Linked DNA regions of Homo sapiens: regions 1, 2 and 4 are each linked to region 3. Evidence: promoter capture Hi-C in 16 types of primary human blood cells and fetal thymus (Javierre and others, 2016). All regions are on one chromosome and are shown on one strand. Each heading gives the region's core, a stretch centred on a gene start or on the middle of the fragment in contact. The rest is flanking DNA. Distances are from core to core; before and after follow the strand shown.

The links. Contacts are between HindIII fragments. The CHiCAGO score rates a contact against its expected background, and 5 or more counts as called.
Region 1: a contact is called between a fragment that was not itself captured here and the fragment with the promoter of APP in region 3, in 13 of 17 cell types (endothelial precursors, naive CD4 T cells, fetal thymus and 10 more). The highest score is 9.6, in endothelial precursors.
Region 2: a fragment that was not itself captured here is called in contact with the fragment with the promoter of APP in region 3 in 11 of 17 cell types (megakaryocytes, endothelial precursors, naive CD4 T cells and 8 more); the score reaches 12.3 in megakaryocytes.
Region 4: a contact is called between a fragment that was not itself captured here and the fragment with the promoter of APP in region 3, in 9 of 17 cell types (endothelial precursors, M0 macrophages, megakaryocytes and 6 more). The highest score is 7.8, in endothelial precursors.

Annotation. Positions count from the first base shown.
Region 1 is chr21:25,973,807-25,978,764 of GRCh38, reverse strand. APP (amyloid beta precursor protein) reads left to right here. Exons shown (of 18, transcript NM_000484.4): 10 at 2,737-2,811; 11 at 3,537-3,695. Among named protein-coding and RNA genes, the nearest start is that of APP, 190 kb to the left of the region's middle. The HindIII fragment of the contact is 3,688 bases long and covers 675-4,362 here.
Region 2 is chr21:25,935,832-25,941,114 of GRCh38, reverse strand. All of the region lies in intron 13 of APP (amyloid beta precursor protein), which reads left to right. Among named protein-coding and RNA genes, the nearest start is that of GABPA, 200 kb to the right of the region's middle. The HindIII fragment of the contact is 409 bases long and covers 3,650-4,058 here.
Region 3 is chr21:26,168,694-26,173,774 of GRCh38, reverse strand. It overlaps APP (amyloid beta precursor protein), which reads left to right and starts at 3,005. Exons shown (of 18, transcript NM_000484.4): 1 at 3,005-3,211. The coding sequence starts at 3,155. It overlaps APP-DT (APP divergent transcript), which reads right to left and starts at 2,908. Exons shown (of 4, transcript NR_186396.1): 1 at 2,723-2,908. RefSeq lists silencers at 2,653-3,482, 3,983-4,252 and enhancers at 3,270-3,794, 4,293-4,502. The HindIII fragment of the contact is 2,642 bases long and covers 2,520-5,081 here.
Region 4 is chr21:25,953,284-25,958,634 of GRCh38, reverse strand. It overlaps APP (amyloid beta precursor protein), which reads left to right. Exons shown (of 18, transcript NM_000484.4): 12 at 2,880-3,008; 13 at 3,946-4,045. Among named protein-coding and RNA genes, the nearest start is that of APP, 210 kb to the left of the region's middle. RefSeq lists an enhancer at 2,772-3,971. The HindIII fragment of the contact is 2,405 bases long and covers 755-3,159 here.

The sequences.
Region 1 (4,958 bases), core at 1,269-3,768, 190 kb after region 3:
GGCCAGGATGGTCTCGATCTCCTGACCTTGTGATCCACCCGCCTGGGCCTCCCAAAGTGCTGGGATTATAGGCATGAGCCACTGTGCCTGGCCTAGGTTTTTATTTTTAAGATAAGCAGCAACATTTTAAGAGCGCCCCTTTCTCCTGTCACTAAATATAAATAAACTTAGCTCACCTAATGAATTTTTTATTTTATAATAAAAAATTGGGTACCACAGGGTACAAAAACATGATCTTTAGAGCCACAGAGATCTTGGTTTATATTCTTCCCTCTCCCTTTTTTACCTGCATAGCCTCGAGCTGGTACCTTAACCTGGTTCGTAAAATGGGATGGCCCTGGCTAATCTCACAAGCTGTTGTGAGGAATCAATTAAATTAGATAGATTTTGTAAAGCTCTTAATACAGGGTCAGCAGTAATGCTACTTGTTATCAGTCCCACAGTGAAATTCACTGTTCACAGGGAGATGGTCAGCCTACATATAGTGTGTATTCATTTGCAGTAGAGTCTTAGTGGGATGGTGCAGGTGATTTGTTTATTTGTGGGGGTATAGGATATTGTTAAATTGTTCTGAAAATCAAAATGTGAGTTAATTTCTATAGTAATGCTTATTTGCAACTCATTAGCTAAATAAATCTCTTTAATTATTTCATGGATTCCCCCAGCTTAAAGCTTAAAGTCCAGTTTCTTAAAGTGTATGAGGTAAAATGGAAAAAATGTAAATGTAATATGGGAAATCAGTTCTCACATTGCAGTAGAACATTGAACTTCTATCTCAAACTAATTTTGAGATTCCTTGCTTGAAGAATTGTTGGTAGAGTACCACCACTGTGAACATTCCCAAAGCAGGAAATTGAAATATTTATATTGCAAGGCTTATCTCATCTATAAAGCAAAGATGGTCTTCCATTTCCCCCTTGCCCACAGGTTCCCTTTATTAACTTGGTAGAAGCACCAAAGCAGATGGGACAATATGTTTCTTTTCTTCCATGTTCTATTCTTGTTCATTGCAGCAGGGCATTTGTCCCAATTTTGCTGTGAACCTTGAGATTATTTTTGATATGCTTTTCAAGTGTAATGAAATATTTATTCCATCTTGTTTCCTCCATGGTTTTACAAAAACAACAAGAAGAAGCTAATTGCCTATCATATACAAAGAATGAATGCCAATGGACAATAAAATCTGTAATTAGGAACCCACATGGTGATTTGATATAGTATTGTCTCATAGAAGTCTTCTATCTATAGTTATTTATTCCAAGCCTCTTTTTCTTTCCCATCTTGAAGTATGTTAGAAGAGTCTATTCCTTAAGGCTAAGTACCTACAAAAAACAGGCTCTTATAATACAGTAATCAAGTTTTCTCATGCTTTGGGAGTACACAGAGTATGCAAGTACACATCTGGCACCAAACCAATATTTTGTTTCCTTGATCTTTCTTCATTTTACCTAGTTCAGAGTTGCACTTCAAACAAATTCTACTTGTCATACACTTGAAAAGGCAGCTGTAGGTGGTAGGAAGTTAATATTTTCTTTGAACAACATACAGAGGTGCAGACTTTTACTTTTTGTATCAGGTTAATGAGTGAACTTCTCTCAGGGAAATCCAGGTGAACATCAAAGTTGAGAGCAGGAAGCATTGATTTCCTACAAAACACATTCACCTGATATCTTAGTCAGTTTGTGTTGCTATAATAGAATACCCCAGCCTGGATAATCTGTAAAGAAAAAGAAGTTTAAAATTCGGCTCTCAGTTTTGCAGGTGGGGAAGTCCAAGAACATGGTGCTGGCATCTGTTGAGGACTTCCTTGCTGTATCATATATGGTGGAAGGAAGAAGGGCAAGAGGAGGGCAAAACTGAGTTTTATAACAACCCACTTCTCACAATAACAAACCCACTCCCCCCATAATGATACTAATTTACTCATGAGGACAGAGACTGAATCACCTCTTACAGGACTTACCCCTCAACATTGTTGCACTGGGGATTAAGTTTCCAACACATGCTTTTTAGGGGTTACATTCAAACCATAGCAGTTGGTTACTAAATTAGTGCTACTTGTAAAAAAATACATGTTTGCTGCATTCAGAATATTACATGTTTTCTTGGAGTTTTTGGAAGGACTTAGCGTAATCCTTGCTGTTCATGACTTAGGTTGGCAAGCTCAAAGGGCCTTAATTCCCCATCAGTTCTTTAAAGGGGGATAGGTCTTAGGATATTAGACAGCAGAAGTCTTCTTTTTCTTCCCCCATTATGTACTGCTTTTTGGCATTGTATTCATGACACACACACACATAAAATGTCATATTTTCTTTAAAGTCAAAATATACAGTTTAAAATGGTTTCAGTTGCTTTCATAAGAGAGTAAAACTTAGGTGTTCAGTTTAATATTGGAAGACCTTGTTCAGTTAATGTGTGCCTTCCATGAATAGTTGGTATTTGTTCACATCAAATCAAATGACTGTCAGTTCTCGGGGTAAAAAAAGACCAACCTTGACTCAAAAAGCTATATTCCTGCAATAAATATGAACATTTATGTTTAATATACTGCTGTGATTAATTATTTATATCCTAGTGGGAGGTCAAATATTCTTCAGATAGGAAGGGGTATGTAATAAATTTTTTAAATATCTAAAATGACAAAAATAGAGGAAAAACATAATCATCCATCCTATTAAGTCTGTATTCAAAGGATGAACTGATGATTTTAAATTCAAATGTTTCCTTAATTTATAGGTCATGAGAGAATGGGAAGAGGCAGAACGTCAAGCAAAGAACTTGCCTAAAGCTGATAAGAAGGCAGTTATCCAGGTAAAACCTGAACCCATTTCCTACCAAACATCACATGCCAGCAGTCTTTTTAATGAGTGTCTGCAGGTTTACCTTTATCTGCCAGCACCTCACGTGTGATTGTTCATAGTCCCATGAACTTCAGCTGTTCTTAATCATTGTCTAGTAATTGAGTTGTTTAAATCCTGCCTTATATTTGCTCCCAATTATTTCAAGTTATAATTCATTGCCATAAAACTCACATTGTAACTTGCAATCTACTTTTTATTAATAATACATCTTTTCAGTCACCACAATCTTCTGCTGCTTCTCCCTCCAGCAAAAATTATGAGAATTTGAATTTTTGATGGAAACCAGTCTCAAAATTACCTTAAGTAAACCAACAGTTTATTATGGTCAATTACTTGAGGTACTGTTAGTAAGAGAGGGATTTTTTTTTAATATGTAATATAAGAGTTTCAAGAGTGCATATATTTATCCAAAGTTATTAGTCAAATCAGCCTTCAGAGAGCCTATGAAATACTGATTTTCAATGAGAAAGTAGGTTTGATGAGGGTTGGAGAGTGCAAGAAAGTGAAGTAAGCTATAAAACGTAGAATTAGTCAATGTTGGAATGACTATGCAGTCTTTAGGATACTTTTTAGCACTAGAAGAAAATGGAATAGGATGTCTTTTTTAGAAGACTTGAAATTGCTGCTTCATCCTACTTATTCAGTCCCCATGGACATATGTGTTTATGATGGCAGCATTTCCAGGAGAAAGTGGAATCTTTGGAACAGGAAGCAGCCAACGAGAGACAGCAGCTGGTGGAGACACACATGGCCAGAGTGGAAGCCATGCTCAATGACCGCCGCCGCCTGGCCCTGGAGAACTACATCACCGCTCTGCAGGCTGTTCCTCCTCGGGTAGGTCTCGCTGCAGCCGAGTTCACACTTCAGGTCACAGCACAGACAGTAAGGGTGGGGCACTGGGAACTGGAAGCCATACAAAAAGAATGAGGAGAAATGCCTTGAGCACTGTTATTCAGAGGTTCAACCCCTGTCCATTCCATCTTGAAGGTCAAAGGGTCACAGGGCAGCTACCTCCACAAGGTCATCTCTACACAGCAGGTACTCACACTTCCCCACAGAGCAGCCAGACAGGACTCCCAGGGACTCACATTGCAAGCCCTGACTTGATTTAATATTCCTGAGGTGGTGACAATTGATGGCATAGTTCAAGTTCGAACACAAAAGCTGGAAGGATGTCTTCCAGTCCCTTCAGGCTGCTGTAACAGAATACCATAGACTGGGTACCTTATCAGCAACAGAAGTTTATTTCTCACAGTTGCAGAGGCTGAGAAGTCCAAGATCAAGACATCAGCATACTTGGTTGTCTGGTGAAAGTTTGCTTCCTGGTTCATAGAACTTAAATTTTGTTTATCTTTTATTTATTTTATTTTTGTTTTTGTTTGTATTTTGCTGTATCCTCATATGGTGGAATGGGCAAGAGAGCTCTCTGGGCCCTCTTTTATAAGGGTACTAATGTCAATCTTGAAGGCTCTGCCCTCATGCCTAATTGTCTCCCAAAGCTTTCACCCTCAAATAGCATCACACTGTGGCTTAGGTTTCAACATATGAATTGGGGGTGGGAGAGACACAAACATTCAGACCATGGCAAAGGATTTTAGAAGTAACCTTGCCCAGCCCCCTCATCATGTAAGTATAATAATATAACTAAGGTCAAGGAAAGTTGAGATTTGGCTGAGTTGTAAGAATTTTTAGTGGACCAGAAAGAATTAGAACTCAAATTTCCATCTCAGAGCAGTGGCCATATTCTCTGTGGGGAAGCATTTGTCAGTCATGACATTAGCAATGATGAGACTTATTCATGGTTTTCAGTGATCATTGCCCCAAAAAGGCATGTTGAGTGGTACAGGCATAGATGTGTTCACCGGCATTCTGTGGGAGAGCTTACTTGGAATGGAAGGAACTTTCTGAGCATGAGTGTGTAACTTATGTCCACTTGTTCTTTTTTTTTTTTTTTTTTTTTAAATGAGATGGAGTCTCACTCTGTCACCCAGGCTGGAGTGCAGTGGTGCAATCTCAGCTCACTGCAACTTCTGTCTCCTGGGTTTAAGCAATTCTCATGCCTCAGCCTCCCAAGTACCTAGGATTACAGGTGAGCCA
Region 2 (5,283 bases), core at 2,605-5,104, 230 kb after region 3:
ACCACTTAACTGATTGTTAGCTTTTTGAGAGTATGTATCAAATCTCATGTGCATTTGTGTGTCCTGAAACAAATTATTAGGTATAAAGTATGTATTGCAAATACCATGCCCAGGGAATATTTCAGAGCTGTGGTTCTCCAAGTGTGGTCCTTAGTCTAGCAACATCAGCATCGCCTGGCATCACCTGGGAACTTGTTGGAAAAGCACATTCCATGATCCCACCCCTGACCTCCTGAATCAGCAAAGCTAGGGATGGGGCTGAGCAATCTGTATTTTATCAAGCTGTCCAGGTGACATTGATAAATGCTAAACTTTGCGAATTACTGATTTAGAGACTAATCAACTCATTAAAAAGTTAATAAATAGGTGAGAATCCATTGTAGCACCCCAGTCACCTATGCTATTATCTTCTAAATTCACATTATACAAATTGTATGCCACAAAAATGTTTAAGGTGAAAACCCAAAGGAATTGATGCATTGGATTAATTCACAAAAATTTAACAGCTGCAATTCATAGAAAAAAAATGCATGCATATCTGATAATTAGTTGTAGATTAAAAGGTGAACAACTTCTTATTATTAATACCAATGAAAATGTAATTTTTTAAAAATTATGGCCAATTGGTAGTTTTTTAAAAATCTGTTATGCCTTGTCATGATAAGGATAGGTGAAAAGGAACTTTCATAAACTATTGCTAAGTATATGGGTGAAACCTTTTAGACTATTTGGGTCTACCTAATAAATTAAAATGTTCAGTCTTTTCTAATTTTAGCACCGTATTTCTACAGATACACTGGCATATCTGTGGAGAGGGGCACTTCTGCTTGTCACCTGATATCCCTTACTACTACTAATATTTTTATAAGCATTATTACCTTTAAAATCATGTTAAAGGGTAAATGATGTGCAACAGACTCAGTTTCCCCTTCTCTGACTCCTGTTTAGTTTACATCTCTTTTCTCTCTCTCATTTGGGGGCTCAATACCCTTAAGATTATAGAGAAATTGCAGTAGGTAATGTTGGCTGGAAATGCTAACTTGTAAGAAACTTGGGTGGAAATGGTTTAAGCCATCAGCCTAAACGATCAGTGAAAATGTCAGACATTCTCCGCTTTCTTCTTCCAAGATACTATACTCTACTGTGGCCTTAGAGTTCTTAATTCCTATATAATTCTGATTAAAAAGGAAGGAGATGCTCCTAATATACCTTGCTGTTGTCCCCTCCTGTTCATTAGGGTAGCTGATGTCAGTCAAAATAAAGTCTAGAAATTCTTGAGTACTTTTTTTTTTTGTAATATACTGAGAATGCTTGAAGCAAACTAACCAAATTTAAGTGTTTTAAGGATATTAACAGTAACAGGAGAGCCCCTCGATTTTCTGCTAAGAATCAACCTGAACAGTTTCCAGACTGCTGGTTGGCAATGTCAGTATCATGAGAAAAACTGAAAAAATAAGAAACTTTAGAGAAAAAGAGGAATCAGTGCAGGCTAGGGGAATGAACTTGGTAATCCAGTAGTCTTTCCCTGCCAGCATTTTGATTGATAAGCTAAGTGTCTGCTTTTTCTCATCCCTTATTTTTTGGCAGGAAACCAGTATTTTGATACTTGAATGCCTTCTTTCTATCTTAAGGGAGAAGCCTTCTTAAACTTCAAGTGTGAAGTAGATCCTTTAGGTATAGGATGAAAAATTAAGTGGGACTATTTGTGAATTACTAAATCGCAACCATTAAAGAAACTAATGCCCTAATTAGCCTGTCTTTTGACAGACATGGCATCCATATGTAAGTCTAATATTGTATGCAAATGTGAGACAGGTTTTGCTTTCTAGATCTCTTTGATGTGAAAGGAAAAGCTGGCTTCCTGGCTTCCTTCCCATGTTCTGTATGGACCTGCCTTCATCCTGCTGCCAACAGCTCCTCAAGGGAACATGAAAGTGGAATTAAACCCTCCTGGTTTTCAGATTCAGAATCCTGGGTGATTAAGTGGCTTGATCAAAATCAGAAACTGTGAAAGTGCTAAAAATGGTCAAGGCCCAAGGAGTTCCTCATGTGTGGTCAAAAGCCTTTCAGAAATCAAAGTGTGTCTTTAAATACCTGGGGTGCAAAAATCAGATGTTTTTTATTTAAAGAAAAATAGGTATATTAGAGCAGAACTGGGGGCCCTCTGTAGGAGCCTGAGTCTGGGTGTTTACTGTCGTCTAAGGCCTTGTTAATGTGGGCTTGAGGCTTCGGAATCCACGAACAGGGGAAGCTAGCGTCTCTCGCTGACTCCAGTCCTAGCTCGAGCTTTCCATACTGCCCTACGTGACTTCTGCACTTTTGTGCCATCAGCCAGTAGACTGAGAAAAGTATCTGGTATTTGTCGGTGTCTTCGGTTTAGCTGCTTTAAGTCCTTGGATGGAAAAGGCTGATTGTCATCCTGAAATCATTGTCTCCTAATGTGTAATTGGGGCCAAGTGAAGCACAGTAATTTAGAGGAATTCTAGTTAAAAATACAGATTCTTGGGCTCTACCTCAGACCTACAGAGATCTGCATTTTTCTTATTCCCCCAGGTGATCCTTTAAACATTCAGAGGTTTTTAAAACTCATGCTTATATGCAATAACAAAAATATAAGGATTCTTAGAAACTTGTTATATTTGTCTTGAACATGGGATGACAGACATTGTCATTTTCATTGAAAAAAAAAATGAAGCAGAGACTCAGAATGTATTTAGAGACAACTCTAAATACATTCTGGCAGAGCCTAACTACTGGATTGCAGAGATCCTCCCTGCTTCCCCCAGTCCCCATCTATAAACTGGCCATGTGAATTTCTAGTGGTGTTCACTTCCAAAGTGGTGATTTTATAAAATATTACAATGAAGCATTATTAACCTCAAGAAGTTCAGATGCATAGAGAGTTTATTTGGGTGTGGCAGCATTAGTGGCTAGGTTTTATTTATCCAAGATAAGACTTCTTATTAGCTATGAAAAGGGATTGGCATAAACTGCTTATTAATGTCCATTAACTGTATCTAAAGGGAATAAACAGTATAAAAGGCCAGGCATGGTGGCTCACACCTGTAATCCTAGCCCTATGGGAGGCTGAGGCAGGAGGATCATTTGAGCCCAGGAGTTTAAGACCAGCCTGGGCAACATGGGGAGACCCTGTTTCTACAAAAAGTCAAAAAAATAATAAGCTGGGTTTAGGGGTACACACCTGTAATCCCAGCTAGTCAGGAGGCTGTGGTTGGAGGATCACTTGAGCCCAGGAGTTGGAGGTTGCAGTGAGGCCTGGCGGCACCACTACACTCCAGGCTGGGTGACAGAGGGACGACCTTATCTCAAAACAAACAAAAACAAAAAACTGTATAAGCATAAGATGGGCTTGAGTCACAAAATTCTGCCTTTCATAACTTTCCCCCATTTGCTGTTTGATTTGCTGTTTCAGAAATTGTGAACCTACTTCTCTACTTATAGAACATTTACCTCCCTCTTAGATTCTTCCCTTTCTATCATTGATACTGACATTCTGCTTAAAGAATTATCCATTTAGGCTCTCTTCAAATCCAAAGTGATATTATTTTATTTTAATAAGAGATGAAAGGGAAAATTGACAAAATGTGCCTGGAGTTGTCAGCATTGTAAATGATGGACTGTAAAAGCTTCGTCTTGGAAGATTGTCAGAGAGCCTAGTGCCAGCTCAAAAAGTGTGGTCTTTTTAGAGAATTGACAGAAATGTTACAAAGAAAACATGTGCTGAATACCAACTCCAGGTGCGAATCCTGAGAAGCAACTCACTCTATTCTGCAGTAGGAGATGAATTTTGCAGGTTATACAGCAGAGCAATTTAAACTCCCTTGTTTCTTAAAGTATATCCTATAGTGACTTGGGATGGAAGTCATATACTATCCCCTTTTTTGTTCCTTCAAAGTAAATACACCACAGAGCTGGAGATGTCCCAGACACAGGGGGAAGCTGTTTGGATTTTTCCCACTGCCTGTAATGAAGCAAGATAGGGAGGAAGAACTTGGGAACTTGCGTGGCAAATGGTCAAGTAAAGAAAAAGAAAAGCTTTTTCTTTACTTGACCATTTGTCACATGTGCTTTCAAATCCTGAACTGAGTCACATCTGAAATAAATCACTTCCTTGTCATTTCCATGAAAGGGGCAGTACAAGAAATTCCTTGCACATCCCTGGTGAGCCCCTTGTTACTCTCAGATTCAGCTATTGCCTTCAGGAAAAAAAGAAAAAGAAGCCGAAGAAAGAAAGAAAACAGAATCCTCTAGAAAAAGCTATTCTGACCTGTGCTCTTTCTTTTGTCTGAGTGTGACTAGATAAATGCATTAGTCTGCTAGGGCTGCCATAACAAAATACCAAAATACCACAGACTGAATCCTTCAACAACAGAAATTATTTTTCTCATGCTTCTGGAGGCTGGAAGTCCAAGATCAAGGTACCAGCAGGTCGGTTTCTGAGGAGGCCTCTCTTCCTTGATTTACAAATGGCCACCTACGCATCATGTCCTCACATGGTCTTTCTCAGAGAGAAAGAGAGGTGTCTCTTCCTCTTCTTCTTTTGTTTTGTTGAGACAGAGTTTCGCTCTTGTTGCCCAGGCTGGAGTGCAATGGCACGATCTTGGCTCACTGCAACCTCCACCTCCTGGGTTCAAGCGATTCTCGTGCCTCAGCCTCCCGAGTAGCTGAGATTACAGGCATGCCTGGCTAATTTTGTATTTTTAGTAGAGACAGGGTTTCTCCATGTTGGTCAGGCTGGTCTCGAACTCTCGACCTCAGGTGATCCACCTGCCTTGCCCTCCCAAAGTTCTGGGATTACAGGCGTGAGCCCCGCACCCGGCCTCCTCCTTTTCTTATAAGGACACCTGTCCTATTGGATCAGAGTCACACCCCCATGACCTCATTTAACCTTAATTATCTCTTTAAAGGTCTGATCTCCAAAGGTCCCTTGAGGGTTAGGGCTTTGATACATGAATTTTCAGGGGCACACAGTTCGATCCATAGCAGTTGGCTTATTCATACTTTGGGTAGATCCTCTTCATCGTTCCTCAGCTACTGTCTATTTAGTGCACAGCTTCTTTATCCTAAAGCTAGTCAGGGGAGGCATGGAAGGTATTATTTCTCCTGTTTCTGCACCTAAGGCATTAAAACGAGGTTGTGGTCTGGCAGCCTAAACTCGGCCTTGATGAACTTCAAATCCTAGACCTCCTTGGTATGTGAAGTGCATACACTTGTATGGAGGGATTTGACAGGTTTTTTTTTTTTTTTTTTTTTTGAGACAGA
Region 3 (5,081 bases), core at 1,756-4,255:
CTGAGTGGGAGTTTAAAGGCGGGGGATGTGAGCTTTAAATGGGATAAGAACATTCTAGTAACCAGAAATGCCCAAAGATAGAATGCACAGTCTGGAGAGCCAGTGAATATCTCACAAATGGAGACACTTGAAACTAGGATGGGGATGCTGTTGTAGGAATTCCAGCAGACAAGTGGTTGTTGGTTCCTTCCCCAACTTTGTAGGGTTATAACTAGGGATGTTCCTGCGTTTTCTGCTTGGAGGATCTGCAAGACACCTCAGGGCAGGAAATGGCATTAAATGCAGAACAGAGCTAGTGGCTGAAAAGCAAAAAGCCATCAGGATCTCTGAGTAGTGAAGGAACCAGAGAACATGCAGGCAATGTCCATCATTCTGACGCAATCAGCAGCATAATCATCTTCCCCCAGGAACATCTTGACCAGGGAATGTGTCAGTGTGGTGAATTTCAACAGTGGAAAGAGAAACTGCTAAATCTAAGAACTTTAATTTTTATAGATTATGATCTCATCTCTACAATTTTGAATTTCATGCTCAATAAAAGTTCCTTACTCTCTTTTTTTTTTTTTGAGACGGAGTCTCGCTCTGTCGCCCAGGCTGGAGTGCAGTGGCGCGATCTCGGCTCACTTCAAGCTCAGCCTCCCGGGTTCACGCCATTCTCCTGCCTCAGCCTCCCCAGTAGCTGGGACTACAGGCGCCCGCCACGACGCCCGGCTAATTTTTTGTATTTTTAGTAGAGACGGGGTTTCACCGTGTTAGCCAGGATGGTGTTGATCTCCTGACCTCGTGATCCGCCCGCCTCAGCCTCCCAAAGAAAAGTCCCTCACTCTTAAAGTTGCCTCCTCCTTCCCAGGGCTGGCTTCATGGGCATGCAACCCTGGAGAGTCTCACAGGCCCTGCGGTGGGAGGAGCCCCATGCTTGGTTTAACGCTCTGCCATTGCCATCTTAAAATTCTTAATTTAATTTTTTTTCTTTTTTTTGAGGTGGAGTCTCGCTCTGTCGCCCAGGCTGGAGTGCAATGGCACAATCTTGGCTCACTGCAACCTCCGCCTCCCAGGTTCAAGCGATTCTCCTGCCTCAGCCTCTGGAGTAGCTGGGATTACAGGCAGGAGTAACCACGCTCGGCTAATTTTTGCATTTTTAGTAGAGATGGGGGTTTCACCATGTTGGCCAGGCTGGTCTAGAACTCCTGACCTCAGGTGATCTGCCCACCTGGGCCTCCTAAAGTGCTGGGATTACAGGCATGAGCCACCAGGCCCGGCCTTAAAATTCTTAATAATGTAACAAAGGGTCTCACGTTTGCATTTTGCAGTGGACTCTGCAAGATTTGTAGCTTTGGACCACGTTTCTCTTTGCATTCAGATACCTTCTTTTTTGCCTTATTTGCTCATGCAGACCCGGAACAAATACGGAATTGCGGTGGGTAAATGTGGTGCAGAAAGTGAACAACTGGGTTTGTCCTGTCACTTTAGGCTTTTCCCTGCTGTCCCAGCTTCATGTCACTTACTTGCTATTAGATTTGGGAGTTCATTAGCTTCATTTTCCTGATGTATAAATAGGAATAATAGTAACAGCCTCTTTGGCTTTTGTAGGAAGTAAATGACATGAAGCGTATAAACAAATACTGCATGACAATAAATATTTGTCCTTATTTGTTGAGGACATCCAAAGGACATTCAGGGGCAAAAGTAATCCAAGAGTCAAGACTGAATGCCTAGTGCGGGAAAAGACACACAAGACAACATTTAGGGGAGCTGGTACAGAAATGACTTCCCAGGAAGGAAGTCTGTACCCCGCTGGCTGAGCCATCCTTCCCGGGCCTAGGCACCCTTGTCAGCGCAATGAGCAAGGGAGAGAAGGCAGGCTGCAGTGCAGCCCTCAGAAGGGCCAGAGCACTCCCTGGCTTCAGTCCTTCGCTCCAAGCCCTGTGTGGAGTGGGCTGTGGCTTGGTAACTAAATGCTACTTCAGGTCAAGAGCAGGGGATATATCTGGGCAGTTCTAGAGCATTCTAAACTATCTGGACACTAACTGGACAGTGGACGGTTTGTGTTTAATCCAGGAGAAAGTGGCATGGCAGAAGGTTCATTTCTATAATTCAGGACAGACACAATGAAGAACAAGGGCAGCGTTTGAGGTCAGAAGTCCTCATTTACGGGGGTCGAATACGAATGATCTCTCCTAATTTTTCCTTCTTCCCCAACTCAGATGGATGTTACATCCCTGCTTAACAACAAAAAAAGACCCCCCGCCCCGCAAAATCCACACTGACCACCCCCTTTAACAAAACAAAACCAAAAACAAACAAAAATATAAGAAAGAAACAAAACCCAAGCCCAGAACCCTGCTTTCAAGAAGAAGTAAATGGGTTGGCCGCTTCTTTGCCAGGTCCTGCGCCTTGCTCCTTTGGTTCGTTCTAAAGATAGAAATTCCAGGTTGCTCGTGCCTGCTTTTGACGTTGGGGGTTAAAAAATGAGGTTTTGCTGTCTCAACAAGCAAAGAAAATCCTATTTCCTTTAAGCTTCACTCGTTCTCATTCTCTTCCAGAAACGCCTGCCCCACCTCTCCAAACCGAGAGAAAAAACGAAATGCGGATAAAAACGCACCCTAGCAGCAGTCCTTTATACGACACCCCCGGGAGGCCTGCGGGGTCGGATGATTCAAGCTCACGGGGACGAGCAGGAGCGCTCTCGACTTTTCTAGAGCCTCAGCGTCCTAGGACTCACCTTTCCCTGATCCTGCACCGTCCCTCTCCTGGCCCCAGACTCTCCCTCCCACTGTTCACGAAGCCCAGGTGGGCCGTCGGCCGGGGAGCGGAGGGGGCGCGTGGGGTGCAGGCGGCGCCAAGGGCGCGTGCACCTGTGGGCGCGGGGCGCGAGGGCCCCTCCCGGCGCGAGCGGGCGCAGTTCCCCGGCGGCGCCGCTAGGGGTCTCTCTCGGGTGCCGAGCGGGGTGGGCCGGATCAGCTGACTCGCCTGGCTCTGAGCCCCGCCGCCGCGCTCGGGCTCCGTCAGTTTCCTCGGCAGCGGTAGGCGAGAGCACGCGGAGGAGCGTGCGCGGGGGCCCCGGGAGACGGCGGCGGTGGCGGCGCGGGCAGAGCAAGGACGCGGCGGATCCCACTCGCACAGCAGCGCACTCGGTGCCCCGCGCAGGGTCGCGATGCTGCCCGGTTTGGCACTGCTCCTGCTGGCCGCCTGGACGGCTCGGGCGCTGGAGGTGGGTGCCGCGCCTCGGAAGGCGGGGGGAGGCTGCACGGTGGGGACGCGATACCCCCCAAGACCTTAACCCAAGTCTTTAATGCAGAGAAGCCGGGGGTCCGTCAATGGGACCCCTCTCCTCTCCGCCCCCGCTTGCGGACGTCCAGCGCATCCCCGCTTTCGGCCCAGCCCTGCCCCAGGGAGTCGCGCTCCGGCCCGCTGAGAGGGAGCGGGCGAGGCGCTGGTCTCCCTGGTTCCGCGCCAGCCCGGGGCGAGAAGGGTAGGGGGCGACCCTGAGCCCAGACCCCGACTTAGTCCCTGCCTTGGAAGCGGGGGTCGGGGGAGGCGAGAGACATTCAGACAGGGGGGAAGGGGGAAGGAGCACGTGGGGAAAACCGAAAACGCAGCGTCCCTAAAGCCAGTCCTTCGCTCTTGAATCGTTGCCCTTTCCTTTCTCTTGGGCCCTGGGGAGGAGGAGGAGGAGTCGGGACAGCCCAGGAAGCTAGGAGCCCCTCGCTTTTCCCTGCGTTCTCCGCCTCGTTTCACCTTCCTCTCTCACCCCCATCCCCCTTCCTTGCTCCAACCTCTTTTCGCGGCTGCTGGCGGCGGCAGCCTGGGTGCGACCCTAGCCCGAGCCGGCGTCGGGGTCGCGCACCGCCTTCCACAGGCAAACTTTGTGCATGTCCGCGTCTCCCTTTTGTGTAACTTGCGAGAAATGGGAGGGGTCGGAGACCCATAGCCACCCCGCGCCTTCCCCAAGTCTGGACGTCCCGGGAGTTCGCTCGCACCCTAAGCTCTGTCTGAGAGGCAGAAGGTCCGCGGGAACAAAAGCCGCGACACCCCGCCCTCGCCGTGGGCCGAGCCGCGTTAGTCTCAGTGCGCCACCGAGGCTCCCGCCCGGCTCCCTTCCCGGGGCTGCGCGTCCGCCTGGGAGGGGGCAGAGACGCTGCCGGGGCTTCTGGCGGAGCCTCGGGGCCCCTCTGCTTCCCACCCTCGGATCACCTCCGAGGCTTAATTCTGTGCTGGGCTGTAAAGTCCTTGGCGGGGAGGAAATAAGGCGGAGAGTGGGATGTGCGTCTGGAAAGGGCAGTGGCGGATGGTGGGGAGGCACGGGCTCTGTCCTGTGCATCCAAGGAGGCGTTTGTCTGATTAAGGCGCGGCCTCTTCCCTGGCAGCTCTGGGGACTCTGGTTTAGTTCCCCTGGGGGCACAGGATGCTGGGGAGGGTCCGAAGGGTCTTTTTTTTAGGGTGCAGATAAAAGGATCGAATTGAGTGAAGATTAAGACGGAGAAGATGGCGCCTCTGCAGTGCAGCAAAGAAAAGCTGTGTGGAGGCTGCAGCCTAGTGAAATCCACCCACCACTAGGTGTATAACAAGTCTTCCCCATTCATCCAACTCTCGAACATTCAGCTAACGCCTGTGCACAATGACTGTTTTTCTTTACATCTGAAGATGCTTAGAAGTTGTTTGCATGACAGTTGGGCCAGAGGAGGCTGTATTTCACTTCGGACTTCGGTTGGGTTCCTGTTTGGCATCTTAACATTTGCAACCTTCCTTACCCGTTTTTCCCCTCTTTTCCCCCAGCCTCCTAGTAATTTTCCAAAAGAAAAAAAGCAATTTCCGGGCAGATGTTTTCCTGTAATTCCACTGAGGCTGTACAGACTATCACACCATTAGTTTTTTAGTTTCTAATTTGCAAGGTCATTGAACTTTTTTCTCTTCTGATTTTTACCCACAAGTGGCTCAGGAATCACCTTAGGGCTAGTTAAGACAGGTTGTTTTAAGAGTTAAAGAATTTCGTTTTCCATGTTTTAAAAAAATGCACTTAACTAAGAGAATTCTGATTTCTCTCATGACTTACTTACATTTATTTGTAGAATTATTCCAGT
Region 4 (5,351 bases), core at 708-3,207, 210 kb after region 3:
GGGAAAAGTCAAGGCTTTTGTGCTTATTTTTAAATGTATGTTAACATGAATAATTAATTGGCCGTGCACTGGTCGCACGCCTGTAATCCTAGCACTTTGGGAGGCCAAGGCGGGCAGATCACGAGGTCAGGAGATGGAGACCATCCTGGCTAACATGGCGAAACCCCGTCTCTACTAAAAATACAAAAAAATTAGCTGAGCATGGTGGCACGTGCCTGTAGTCCCAGCTACTCAGGAGACTGAGGCAGGAGAATCACTTGAACCCAGGAGGCGGAGGTTGCAGTGAGCCAAGATCACGCCACTGCACTCCAGCCTGGGAGACAGGGCGAGATTCCATCTCAAAGAATAATAATAATAATAATTAGTGGGAATATATGCTGTTTGTTGTGATAGGAGAAGAAAAGGGGAGATCCAGATGTTGGTCATCAGAAATGACCTGCATCTTCTCTAAATTGAAATTTAGCTTGAAGTAGTAATGCCAAGGCCAGCCTGGGGCCATGGCATCCTGGTGTACCTGCTTGTTGGTGACAGTCCTTTTAGGACAAAATATCTTACAAAAACATTCATAGATGACTAACTGGAAAAAAAGAAGTTATGATGAAAAGCAATTCTTACTGTTTTTGTTTTTTGTTTTTTGTTTTTTTTAATTAAAAGACAGGCAGTTATTCTCTTTCCCAGGCTTGAGTACAGTCGTGCAATCAGGGCTCACTACAGCCTCAACCTCCTGGGTTCAAATAATCCTCCTGACCAAGCTTCCCAAGTAGCTGGAACTGCAGGCATGTGTCACTGCACCTAGCTAATTTTTAAAATTTTCTTGTAGAGACAGGTTCTTGTAATGTTGTCCAGGCTGGTCTCAAACTCTTGGCTGCAAGTGATCCTCCTGCCTCAGACTCCCAAAGCAATCCTTACTTTTTTAATTGAAGTGCTTTTTTTTTTTCTTATTTAAACTCTTAAAAATTCATCCCATTTTCTTCAAAACAATAAATCCTTTACAAGGGAGAAAAATGAAATAGAGCAACTAAGAAAGCATCCATGAAGGCCAGGAAGGAACATCATGGTTAAATGCGATTAGTCACAGCCCCTTCTGTCTCCAGTCTTGGATGAATAATGGTAACAGAACTAGAGAGATTTCTAAGACCTTGGTGCTTAATAACAAGCAAGCATCGAGGGTGGTTGTGCAAGATCCTGATCACACAACTCTGCATATCAAATATCCTTCACAATCAACAAGAGTCAGCCTTTAATCTCTGATGTTTTCAAATGTTCTTTTTTTTTAATTCACATGTATAACCTATCCTCTTTTCAATATATAGAGATATAGCTTATCAGTCATTACCTCTTTTACTACTTTTCTTCTGAGATTTAAAAGGTCATCCTCTGATTTGTAAATTCAACCAGATTTCACAGTTCAGATGAGAGTTGTAATAAGTTGCCAAGAACTGTTGCAAGCTGTGATGGCTGTCTTTCTGGGGATTATAGAGAAGCACATTTCTTTTAGGAAAAAAGAAGGCAGATGAGCCCAAGTTGTTTTATTTTTATTGTGTATATGTATTTGTTTTCTCAAGTACAGTAGCATGGCCTCTGTGGCAGGCATTCACCAAGCAAATACAGAGCACCCTCTGGGTCAAGCACTGTGTTATTGGGGTTCCAAATAAAGAAAAAAGACCAAATCCAGCCCTGTGGATCTCACATTAAAGAGGGGAGTAAGAATCATAGATAATTTAATGAGTTAGGTACATTAATGGGGATTTGCACAGTATTTCATAGGAGCACAGAAAAAGGGTACCTCGTTCCACCTGAGATGGCAGGGAGATGGCTCCTAAGTTAACTAAGCAAAAGGGGAAGGAGAGGCACATCCCATAGGATATGGATAACACAACAAAAGCTCCATTACCACCCGCCCCACCACCACACACACCATCTCTGGAATAAATTTTGTACCTTCCAACTGGTTTTCAGGGTACTCATGACACATGGGTTAATAATAGCTAGGTTTGCCCAAATGACCAAAATTCTATTCCCAACATGAATTTTCACAACTGGTTTTTTTGTTTGTTTGTTTTAATGAAGAAGAAATGTTGTGTTTTTGGAAATCATCTTACAAAATCATGTAGTGGAATGCATATAGTGATGAAATTGTTGAAGACCAGGGAATCTTTGTCCTTAGTTTTTATTAGGATGGATGTTTTCAGGTAAAACTAAAATAAAAATGAAATGGAACCAATTAGAAAGAAAATAGGAGCACTTAAGACGAAATGTAATTGTTGCTGAAAGAATTAGAATCTGATAGCTTAGAAAGAACTTAATTAAATTTCAGAGTAAAATAAATACAGTTTAGCAATGGCCTTTCTCCTAGAAAAATATAATGTCTCTTACAGTTCAGTTACTCCTTGGCTTACAAAATAGTGGTTAAATTTCCTGTTTTTCTCATTTTGATTTCGTATGTTACATGTTACTGGTGATGGGATTATCTGTGTGACATTACCTCTGGTCTTCAAAATGTACACGTAGCAATGTAGTCTCACATATGCCCCTTGGGTGCGAAAAGAGAAGGACCTAACTTAACCTGACAGACCTCAAATCTGTTCTCTTTCTATAGCAGAGTACTCCTATTTAAAAAGAAAATGTTGAGTAAGGAGGACAGTCATCATATATGTCGAGAATGTTAAATGCTCTTGTGGAAGTGAAAAGCAGCCGATCTAAGTAATTACCCATTAAGAAAGGAGTAGGAGAAATGTTTAGAAGGCAGACCTGCAAAAAGGTGACTCACAGTACGTTCACATGACCGGATGCATTAGTGGAACCTCTAACCCATCGCCAATGGAAGAAGCAGTGTTTTGCACAAACTTGAAAAAGAGTTTTTCATTTTCCTCCCACAGCCTCGTCACGTGTTCAATATGCTAAAGAAGTATGTCCGCGCAGAACAGAAGGACAGACAGCACACCCTAAAGCATTTCGAGCATGTGCGCATGGTGGATCCCAAGAAAGCCGCTCAGATCCGGTCCCAGGTAAGCGTGGGGTATAATCATCTTCTGCAGCTTTGACAATCCAGGATTCTTGCTTCTTGGGTTGGTGACAGGATCCCACGCATTCTCCGAGCACCTATAGGTGTTTTCCCTATGGCAAGAGCTCTTTAACTTCTGGTAAATTCTAAAAGCTTGTCTTAGAGCAATATGTGGTTTGGCATTTTCTGAGTTATGAAAATAACAAATGTAAAAATCTTAGTCTACTGCTAACTGATTGCTAAGGAACTGATTAAAACCAATGACTAAAATGAGAAAAACAAAAGTTGTATAAACTAAAATCTTGAAAACTGGTTCAACTGAAGTATGGCAGGCAATCATAAACCTACTGGAATGTTGAGATTTCATGTGAGCCTAAATGAAGCCCAGTAATAATGTATTTTATACTCCCCGGTTCCCAAAGGCTGAAAACTGGGATCTACCTTAGGAAATGTGAAATTTTACATTTTCTTGAATGAAAGAGTTAAATATATATAGCATGAAATAGCCAATCAAATTGAAATACGTTGTTTTCTAGGGGGAAATTTGCAAAGAAATGTATTTAGGCATGAGGGTCCTGTTAAGAGAGCCTCAGTATTAGGAATCAGAGGTGGCAGAGGTAGCCTTTTTAATTGGCTGTTATAAGCATACAAGATAATGGTAAGTTTCAAGATCAAGTCTTAAACCTGAGCTCAAAAAGTTAGAGAACAGAAATAGGAGAACAAGAAAAATAAAGTTGCCCTTTCAGTTCAACCTTTTTAACAGTAGCAGTGTTTTGTCAGTTTTCTTTTGGAAGTTTGTATCTACCTGCAGTGCTTGGTAAGAAAAATAACCTGGGCGACAGAGCGAGACTCCGTCTCAAAAAAAAAAGAAAAAAAGAAAGAAAAAGAACCATTCCTACCCCCAGACATTGTTGACCTGGAGTTGTCATCCTTTGATGCAGGTTATGACACACCTCCGTGTGATTTATGAGCGCATGAATCAGTCTCTCTCCCTGCTCTACAACGTGCCTGCAGTGGCCGAGGAGATTCAGGATGAAGTTGGTAAGTAAGCTGTTCTTTTGATGCTGCACATGGACATGTATTTTCCCCCAGAGGAAAATTGAGGAAGTGAGTTATCTGTTTGAGGAATATGGAAGTTAATAGAACAGCTTGCCTTTTACGATGAAACTGTCAGGCTGGAACTAGCTTACTAGCCTTAGCAATTGAATCAGTTCTTACCTCTCCATACTTGTAAGACTGGAGGAATGTCGCCTGACTTAGGGTATAGTTTTGTAATAATTGGACACTTGTTATTGAATTATACGTGGCAGCATTTTTTCTAATTTGCCCAATCTTGTTATGGCTCTCAAATTATGATGCTTTGGTACTTTACAATTAATGGGGAAAAAAACTCATTCTTCATCTTTTGAGTGTCACGATTGTTCCATCTTACAAATGAAAAAGCTCAAACTTAAAATTTGAGTAACTTACTGGCCTGTGTCACATGCATTATAAGTAGCACAGCCAAAACACATAACTGTGACTTGTGACTTTGAGGTTATTGTTATATTCAGTAAGTCACAATTCTCTTTGATGGCTGAGCAGGGAAGCCATGAGTGTTCTCTGAACCACATCATTGTTTAAACTTAAAAGATAGTGGGCTATTAAACTTATATTCTGAAATAATTGTACTCTCACAAGAACTTGGAAAAATAGTACAGAGAGGTCTCATGCATCCATCACCCACATGCCTCACCAGTGACATCTTACGTAACTATAGTCCATTATCAAAACCAGGAAACTGACCTTGTGTGCCCACTGTCTTTTATGTCCCTAGTTTTCCTAATGACTAATGATTTCATTTAAGATCTCTCATTTCTGTTTCTCTTGGAAAGAGAATAAAATACCACATGAGTCTCTGTCAGCTGCCAAAATGCCCATAACTGTTTAACTTACTTCACAAAGGTACATAGATGACGATTATGTTGGTGCATCTTTCAATATAAGCATATGTACCTATACTGGAGATTTAGTGTGTAGTCTACCAACATATAAGCAATATGTATCTGGCATATCCTTCCCCATAAAGAATCCTACCCTTTGTTAATTGGGTTGGAAATAGATACAGGTTATCATCTGGAATCAGAGCACCCAGGATGTTGTAGATGGATGTACCCATTACAGTAAGTCCGACTTTGAAGTGCCTGAAACACCGCTCAAGGGAACAGCTGGCCCTCACTTTTTCCCATTTTATGCCAGTGTTATTCTGCTCATTCTTTCCTGATTTATGTGGCCTTGTAAATATTGTTTGTATTGCTGTGAAATATTTGGCATGTGTCAAGTGATGATGTTCTGTTCAGTACTGCAC